3 separate regions of the Homo sapiens genome follow, and regions 2 and 3 are each linked to region 1. Evidence: promoter capture Hi-C in human tissues and cell types (Jung and others, 2019). All regions are on one chromosome and are shown on one strand. Each heading gives the region's core, a stretch centred on a gene start or on the middle of the fragment in contact. The rest is flanking DNA. Distances are from core to core; before and after follow the strand shown. Region 1 holds the start of MFN1 (mitofusin 1). Region 2 overlaps PIK3CA (phosphatidylinositol-4,5-bisphosphate 3-kinase catalytic subunit alpha). Region 3 has its middle 33 kb from the start of ACTL6A.

What was found. The method cuts DNA at HindIII sites, captures the fragments that hold promoters and counts their contacts. A contact is called where the count stands out against the background at its distance.
Region 2: a contact is called between a fragment that was not itself captured here and the fragment with the promoter of MFN1 in region 1, in 1 of the 25 tissues and cell types used here (pancreas).
Region 3: a fragment that was not itself captured here is called in contact with the fragment with the promoter of MFN1 in region 1 in 1 of the 25 tissues and cell types used here (thymus).

The regions. Positions count from the first base shown.
Region 1 is chr3:179,345,993-179,348,960 of GRCh38, forward strand. MFN1 (mitofusin 1) reads left to right here and starts at 1,717. Exons shown (of 18, transcript NM_033540.3): 1 at 1,717-1,818; 2 at 2,853-2,968. The coding sequence starts at 2,860. RefSeq lists enhancers at 1,426-1,955, 2,289-2,508 and a silencer at 2,009-2,168. The HindIII fragment of the contact is 4,459 bases long and covers 922-2,968 here.
Region 2 is chr3:179,169,233-179,172,228 of GRCh38, forward strand. The region is part of intron 1 of PIK3CA (phosphatidylinositol-4,5-bisphosphate 3-kinase catalytic subunit alpha); the gene reads left to right. Among named protein-coding and RNA genes, the nearest start is that of PIK3CA, 22 kb to the left of the region's middle. The HindIII fragment of the contact is 7,643 bases long and covers 1-2,996 here.
Region 3 is chr3:179,528,229-179,531,461 of GRCh38, forward strand. No RefSeq gene overlaps it. Among named protein-coding and RNA genes, the nearest start is that of ACTL6A, 33 kb to the right of the region's middle. The HindIII fragment of the contact is 4,005 bases long and covers 1-3,233 here.

The DNA of each region.
Region 1 (2,968 bases), core at 467-2,966:
AACAGATTTGGCAGTGATACATCAAATTGATAATTTCTTTCAAATAACGTTAGTTTTTGTTAATATCTATGTTGGTTTTAGCGTTTATATTTTAATTCTTTTCCTTCTTTGTGTTTACTCTCCTGGCTTTTTGGTAATATGTGTGTTCCACACACACACAAAAGCAATGGATTAAATTTCTTATTACTTACTATATTAAACATTTAATTACCGTGCTATAATTTATAGCCTGTAATATGTCACTCTTGCTTTAAAATGCAGTAATTATATTAAATATAATTATTAAGTACAGAACTAATAAAAGGATACCATCATGATTTTTAAAATTCAAACAGAGTAAATGTTCCCTTTGAGACTACCTATGCTCAGAACTGATGGATTAGCTGGCACGACCCAGACCGATAAACTGGCTCATCTGACCTAGTGTCCCCCAACCCAGGAACTGACTCGTGCAGAAAGACAGCTTCCACTCCCTGCGATTTCATCCCTGACCAATCAGCACTCCTGGCTCAGTGGCCTCCCCCAACCCACCAAATTGTCCTTAAAAATTCTGCTCCCCAGTGCTGCTCGGGGAGACTGATTTCAGTAATAATAAAACTCCAGTCTCCCATACAGCCGGCTTTGCGTGACTAAGTCTTTATTTGCAATCCCCCTGTCTTGTATCAGTTCTGGCTAGTCAGCGGGCAAGGTGAAGGCTTTCCTTGGGCGGTTACCATCCGAAGCTTTAATTTTAAGTATAATGGCAAGCTGTTGGAAAGCTTTTTTTTTTTTTTTTTTTTTTTTTTTTTTTTTTTTGAGATGGAGTCTGGCTCTGTCGCCCAGGCTGGAGTGCAGTGGCGCGATCTCGGCTCACTGTAACCTCCGCCTCCCGGGTTCAAGCAATTCTCTGCCTCAGGCTCCTGAGTAGCTGGAACTACAGGCGCCCGCCACCACCACGCCCGGCTACTTCTTGTATTTTTAGTAGAGACGGGCGTTCACCGTGTTAGCCAGGATGCTCCCGATCTCCTGACCTTGTGATCCGCCCGCCTCGGCCTCCCAAAGTGCTGGGATTACAGGCGTGAGCCACCCCGCCCGGCCTGGAAAGCTTTTTAAGTTCGGAAAGTAATACGATCTGGATTTCTTTTCTTTTATTTATTTATTTATTTATTTGAAAAAATGTCTCGCTCTCTTGCCCAGGCTGGAGTGCAGTGGCACGATAAATCACAGTTCGCTGCAGCCCCGGGCCCAAACAATCCCCCCGCCTCAGTCTCCGAAGTAGCTGGGACCACAGGTGTGTGCCACCACGCCTCGCTAAGTTTTTAAAATTTTTTTAATTTTTCATTTTTTAATTTTGTAGAGACGGGGAGGAGGAAGAGGGTCGGGGGCGGGGGGGGGGGCGCCTCCCTATGTTGCCCAGCCTAGTCTCGAACTCCTGGGCTTAAGAGATATCCCACCCCTTCGGTCTCCCAAAGTGCTGGGATTATAGGCGTCAGCCACCACCATCATTGGAAGCTAGCTAAGCCTAGGCTGGGCAGATACTTGGACACTTTGAGGGGAGAAGGGAGGGGAAGAAGTTGGAAGGGGGAACGGAAAACCACTCTCCTGGTAGCAGTCTCTGCCCACAACAAACCTTGCCTTCTGCCCTTAAGGAAAATGGCGCCTGGCATAGATGCGCTTCCGGCCACGGAGCCAAACAGAACAGAGGAGGCAAGAGGCCGGAAGTGACCGCCCTTTGCCACTCCCCCTGCCTCCTCTCCGCCTTTAACTTCTCGGGAAGATGAGGCAGTTTGGCATCTGTGGCCGAGTTGCTGTTGCCGGGTGATAGTTGGAGCGGAGACTGTGAGTGCCGGCTGCCTCGACAGCACGTTTGCGACGCTCGGAGTGACCTTCGAGCGACTGGGGACCGGGGGCGGGAGTCGTGCATGCAGCGTTGTGTGACGAGGCGCCGCCCGCCGCGGTCCTGTGGGAAAGGAGAGAGCCAGCTGTCGGGCGAACGGGGCTGGCGGCCGAGTCGAGCCCACGGAGCCCACGAGGCCGTGCTCGGGGGTGGGATTGGGGGATCCGGACCTAGACGGTCGTGCGCGGGGCGGGGGTGGGCTCTGGCCCTGACTCCTGCGCCCGGTGTGGGAAGGTGGGAGGCCTTTTCTAAGGCAGGTGTTCACACCGGCCGGACCGGGGCGTTACCCCCACCCGGCTTTTCCCACGCAGCTCCTTCGCGCGGTCATTTCTTGACTCTCTGGAAGAATCCGCCTTCTTTATGGCCACTGTTCCTTTCCATGTACACACCAGGATTAGACCGTGATTGTTTGTCTTTGGTGTCTTTTTCTTGAGAAACCACCTATGCTTTCTTAAACTTATAGTCCTTGAAGTTTCTGGTACTTTGGCTGGAAGCGTTAATGCCCTCTTGAAGCCTTACCTTTCTAAATGTCAGCCTCACATTGTGATCTTAGAATTTTATTTCCTCACTCTGCATATCCACTCCTACTCACCTAGAGCTTCAGGTTGAGAAACTTAGTAACTTCCTTATTGTGTGTGAATTTGGCTTCGCCTCACTAACCCTGTTCCCTGATGTACTTTAGAGTCACATGCAGTGACAAACTTAGTCACAATTAGTTTCGTCTTCACCAAAGGGAAATTGAGTAGAAATTGCAACCAAGATTTTGGCTAATAGATTTCACTTATTTTAGTGAAATATCATTCAAAAGTCGTCTCTAACTGTCTGACTAGAACACTCCCAAAAAAGAATTACCTAAAAACATTTTGCCAGCATAATTTATTTCATTGGGGAGTTGATGAATGTCACTGGTGTGTCATCAGTTTGCATGTCTATCATCCACTTTAGTTGGTGCTTTTCTAACTTTATCTCCCTCTAGTAGCATAATGGCAGAACCTGTTTCTCCACTGAAGCACTTTGTGCTGGCTAAGAAGGCGATTACTGCAATCTTTGACCAGTTACTGGAGTTTGTTACTGAAGGATCACATTTTGTTG
Region 2 (2,996 bases), core at 174-2,673, 180 kb before region 1:
TCTCCCCCTGCCTTCTCCCCTCCCCTAATTTTTCTGGTCTCCTGCAATTTTTTTTTAAACATTAGAATCAGCATGCTTAATTCTACACACAAACACAAAAATCCTATTGGCATTTTATTGGGATTACATCATATGTGTAGATTATCTAAGGAAGAATTGACATTTTGGGAATTGGTTGTCTTCCTATCCGAGAATGTGGAATGTTTTTCCATGTCTTCAATCTTTTGTGTTACTTGGGAGCATTTTAAAGTTTTCTTCGTTTATTTTAAAGCAGTTAAAATTCATTTTTTTTCAGTTCACGTGACTAATCAATTCTACCAGGACCGTCTATTAAATAATCTGTCCTAATTAAGGTTCTGGGGTTTTTCCCTATACAAAATTGCAGCAACTATTGTACTTAAGTTTGTTTCTGAACTCAGTTCTGTTCTCTGGATCTGCATGGGCCAATACTATTCTATTTTTATAACTAAGGATTTAATACCTACTTAGGCTAGCCCCTTCTCATTACTCTTCTTTCAAACATTCAGTATATTAAAAGCTGTTATAATACTTCTTACTCTGTTTTAGAGGTGGACATAGACATTACACACATACAAAAAAACTGCAAGCCAATCTCACTTAAAGTATTAGTTATCTTAAATAAAATATTAGCAGATTCAGTAGTTTGTTAAAACACACACACATACCATAGCCAAATGGCATTTATTCTGGAAATACAAAGGTCATTTTAATCTTAGGAAATCTGTAACAGACATTAATTCTCTCTCTTTCCCTGCCTCCCTTCCTCCCTCCCTCTTCCTTTCTCCAGCACAGACATGCACATGCGCGTGCACACGCGCGCGCGCACACACACACACACACACACACGACCTTAGTAAAATAGGGATAGAAAGCTATTCTTTGACGTACTAAGTAATAGATATACCAAACTAGAAGCTTCAGTCAGGCTTAATAATGAAAGACTCGCATTGTCATTCATATTACGAATAATTCAAGAAACAATCAATAGCTATTTTTTTGCCTTGCTTTTGTAAGGGAAAAAAGTAATATAAAGGAGAAGACATATTCGCAAATTTTAATTTCCTGTATCAGTTTCTCCTGACCACTCACTCACATTCTCCCCAAAGTGAAGCCAATGTTGGTAACGGAGTGAATTCTAGTGGGGGACATTGGAGGGGATATAGAAATACGTTTGTTCATATATGCTTTTTAACACAGATTTTTAATTGTATTAGTATAAAAGTGTGATAAACATGCTTTCATTTTAAATATCTTCTGAACCTATAAATTATATTCCCCTTTTAAATTTTTGTTTAATTTTTATCATCAAAATAAATGTATCTTCCAGTAAGGACAGTGTGAGGAGGTTGGATGATTTCCTTCTTCAGAAAACAGGCATCAAAATACTGGAGTAACTGTGTTAATGTCAGCCAAAATAGATTGTAAGAAAAGGAGTATTATTAGAGATAAAGAGGAACATTTCAAAATTATGAAGTGACAAATATGGCAGGAAAATATAAAAATTCTAAATGTATATGCACTTAAGAGAGGCACAAAATGCATGAAACAAAGATTGATAGAACTGAGAGATGAAATAGGCAATTCAATATTTAGAAGAGTTGGAGATTTTAATACTCTTCTCTCAACAGTTGATAGGATAAGTAAACAGAAAACAGGATACAGAAGACAGGAATAAAGCAATCAGCCAACTCAATCTAATTGACATCTGCAGAATACCCAACAACAGTAGAAAACACATTATTCTAAAGTGCATTGGTAACATTAGCCAGGGTGAATAGTATACTGGCCCACAAAAATGAAATGTTTTAATAAATATGGAAGAATTGAAATTATATGGTATGTTTTGCAACTACAAAGGAATTAAAAATCATGGAGAGAAATAAGGAAGAAATAAGTAAAATCCCCAAATATGTGCAAATGAATACTATTTCTGAGTAACCCATGGGTGAAAAAAGAATTCACTGGGCAAAATAGAAAATATTTTTAACTGAGTGAAAATGAACACAAAATGTAAGAAAATATTTGGTATGTAGCTCTCAGGCAGTGCTAAGAAAGAAATGTTTGGCTTTAAATGCTTATGCCAGAAAGGAAGAAAGGTTAAAAAGTCAATTATCTAAGCTACTACCTTAAGAAGCTAGAAAAGAAAGAGTAAAGTGTACCAAAGTAAGTAGAAGAAAGGGAGTAATAAAGATCAGAACAGAAATCAAGGAAATCAAAAGCTGGTTCTTTAAAGAGTTCAGTAAATCTTTAGCTAAAATGAACAAGAAGGGATGTAAATTAGAAATACTGAGAATGAAAGAATGGGTATTACTACAGATACTATAAATACTAAAAAGATAAAGGAATATTATGAACAAGTTTACAACAACCAATTTGGCAACTTAGATGAAATGAACAAATTCTTTGAAAGATACTAATTACCAAAACTGACTCCAAAAGAAGTAGAAAATCTAAATAGACCTATATAGAGTAAATAAATTGAATTAGTAGTTTAAAACTTCCAATAAAGAAAATCTGGGCTTTAATGGCATAGCTAGTAATTCTGTCAGACACCAAAGGAAGAAAAAAATACAAGTCCCAACCACATTTTCAGAAAAGCAGGAGGGAGGAGAGCATCACAATTCATTTTATGAGGACAGTATTACTAGATACCAAAGCCAACACAAAGGCATCCCAAGAAAAGAAAACTAGCAGCCAGTATTCCTCATAAATGTAGACACAAAAATCCTTAGCAAAATATTAGCATGTTTAATTAGCAATATTATATTTAAAAGGATAATACTATAATCATGGTCAAGTAGGATTTATCCCAGCAATGCAAGGCTCACTTAACTTAGAAATATCAATTCTGTGTAATATACCATACTAATAAGATATATTTGAAAAAAAAGTGATCATCTCAATAGATGCAGAAAAGTATTTGACAAAATTCAATACAAATTATAATAAAAACTCTTAGCAAGCTAGGAATTGAA
Region 3 (3,233 bases), core at 643-3,142, 180 kb after region 1:
AAAACAAACAAAAACCTTTAAGATTCTTTTTTATTGGACATAAAGCATTTGACTCTCTATATGACAAAAAACCAATTGTGACTGATTAATTTTCTAAATGTCCACATCTAATTTTAAAGACAATCAACCCTAATCAATAAAGCATAGTAGATCAAACAAAATGACATCCCTAGGTGATGAGTGGTTTCAGGTGGACTTAGACAATGTTTGCTATGGCCTGAATGTCATCCCCTCAAAATTCTTGTTTTGAAATCACCAATGTGATGGTTATTAGGAGATAAAGTCTTTGGGAGGTGATTAGGTCACCAGGGGAAAGCCATCATGAATGGGATTAGTACGTTTATAAAAGAGGGTCCCAGGGAGCTGCTTTTCCCCTTCCACCCTGTAAGGATACTCTGAGCAGGTGTCTTCTAGATACTGAATCTGCCAGTGCCTTGATCTTGGACTTTCCAGCCTATAGAACTGTGAGAAATACATTTTTGTTGTTTATAAGTTACTCAGTCTAAGGTATTTTGTGATGGCAGGCATTAAGGACTGAGACAATGTTGTGTACAGCACTATCGAATGAAGCTTTCTGTGATGATGGAAATGTTCTATTGCACTGTCCAGTGATGTAGCCACAGGAACATGTAGCTGTTGAGCATTTGAAATGTGACTAGTATGCTGAGGAGTTGAATGTGAATTAATTTAAACTGAAGTAGTCACATGTGACTAGTGACTCCTTTGTTGAATGATGCACTGTATGACTTTGAAAGAGCACAGTCTGCAGAATAGCCAGGTGATTCATACCCACAGTAAATGTTGGGAAGAACTGTTGTACATGATACTGACAAAGGTAGCTGTAGACCACATTTTGAGAAATACTGCTCCACTCCCTGCTCTTACAGAATCCACTTTCAAAAAACGCAAACGTGGTATTATCAATCCCACTTAACGGGACAGAAGGTCAACTGCTGAAAGGCAATATAATTAGTCAGTGGTCATGCAGTTTGGTTATAAAACAAACTGAAAGCAGCTTGTCTAGATCCAGTTGATTGTAGCCCAGAATTGCCAGATCTTGCAACTTTTCAGAAAACTCCACAAATCTGAATTTTTATATAAGATATTCTCGGATTTTCAAAATCCTATGTAGACCAAACAAAATGAGTTTTGAATCCTGATATAGTCCGTAGGCTACCAGTTTCCAACCCCGGTACAAAGATTACCCTGCTGCTAGGCCAGACGCGGTGGCTCACACCTATAATCCCAGCACTTTGGGAGGCCGAGGCGGGCAAATCACCTGAGGTCAGGAGCTTGAGACCAGCCTGACCAACATGGAGAAACCCCATCTCTACTAAAAATACAAAATTAGCCGGGCATGGTGGCACGTGCCTGTAATCCCAGCTACTTGGGAGGCTGAGGCAGGAGAATCGCTTGAACCCGGGAGGCAGAAGTTGCAGTGAGCCGAGATTGCACCATTGCACTCTAGCCTGGGTGATGAGAGCAAAACTCTGTCTCAAAAAAAAAAAAAAAAAAAAAGATTACCCTGTTGTCTCTACAAGGAACTGAGGACAGGGGTTTGGCCTTTCCAGATCTTTCCAGGCAGAATCAAAGGCTTCTCGCAGCACTTGTTAGTATGGCCCGTTCAATGTTCAATGCTGTGAGAAGAAAATTTCTGTTATTTATAAATCACCCAATCTAAGGTATTTTATTACAGCAGCCCAAATGGACTGCTTGTCACATATCCCTAAAAAGTTATTTACATGCCGTCTTTCCAACTAGATTGCAAGTCCCTGGAGAAGAGGCACATACTCAGCTACCTATTGTCAGCATAACACCTGAAAAACAGAAAGCATTTAATATATCTTAGTTAAATGAGTGCGCATGAAAATTAGAAGCTTAAACCAGGCATAGCGGCTACACCTGTAATTCCAGCTCCTTGGGAGCCTGAGGCAGGAGGATTCCTTGAGCCCAGGAGTTCAGACCAGCTTGAGCAACACAGTGAGATTTCCCCCCAAAATAAATTAATCAATTGAAAGTTTTTTAAAAAAATCAGAAACTGGCCGGCCTCAGTGGCTCCCACCTTTAATTCCAGCACTTTGGGAAGCCAACAGGGGAGGATTGCTTGAGGCCAGAAGTTAAAGACCAGCCTGGGCAACATAGCAAGATCTTGTTTCTACTAAAAGTAAAAAAACAAATTAGCTGGGCATGGTGGTGCACGCCTGTAGTCCCAAATACTTGGAAGGCAGAAGCAAGAGGATTTCTTGAGCCCAGAAGTTTGAGGTTGCAGTGAGCTGTGATACACCACTGCACTCCAACCTTGTCTCTTAAAAGAAAAAAAAAATCAGAAGCTTAAATAGGATGGCGATGGGCCAAATGAATTTATTTCCTTGTTGTTGTGTTGTTGTTTTTAAACAACAAGATAGCAGATCCCATTTCTAAAATAAATAAATAAATAAACAGAAAAGTACAGAGTCTTGCTATGTTGCCCAGGCTGGCCTCCAACTCCTGTTCTCAAGCAATCCTCCCACCTCGGCCTCCCAAGTAACTGGGACTGTAAGCACCACATTACTCAACCTGGCTTGAGTGTAGGTTTAAAAACTGTGATGGGGTTCCTCCTTGATCCATAATGGTTTATTTATTGCTGCCACAAATAAAAACATACATGTTAAATGTGTACAGTTATAAAACTTACCCTTATTTATTTATTTATCTATCTTTAAGACAGAGTCTTACTCTGTTGCCCAGGCTGGAGTGCAGTGACGCAATCATGGCTCACTGAAGCTTTGAACCCCCTGGACTCAGGTGATCCTCCCACCACAGTAGCTGGGACTACAGGTATGCACCACCAGGTCTGGCTAATTTTTTTATTTTTAATTTTTTTGTAGAGATGGGGGTCTCCCTATGTTGCCCAGATTAGTCTTGAACTCCTGGGCTCAAAAGATCCTCCTGCCTTAGCCTCCCAAAGTGTTAGGATTACAGGCACGGGCCACCACACCTAGCCAAACTTACCTTTTATTTATATAAAATATACAACTCATACAATGTAACATCTGTCCAGGTAGAAATATGTCAATTAACCATACCGATTGATAGGCCTAAGTATTATGTCTTAATTAATTTTTAAAAATCACATACTTTCCAAGGAACATGATATATTCCTATTTTGAACAGATCCAAATTTTTCCCATGCTGACTTTTGAGGTAAACTAGGTCTTTCTACTGACTTTACCAAAATTATTTTTAAAATATAC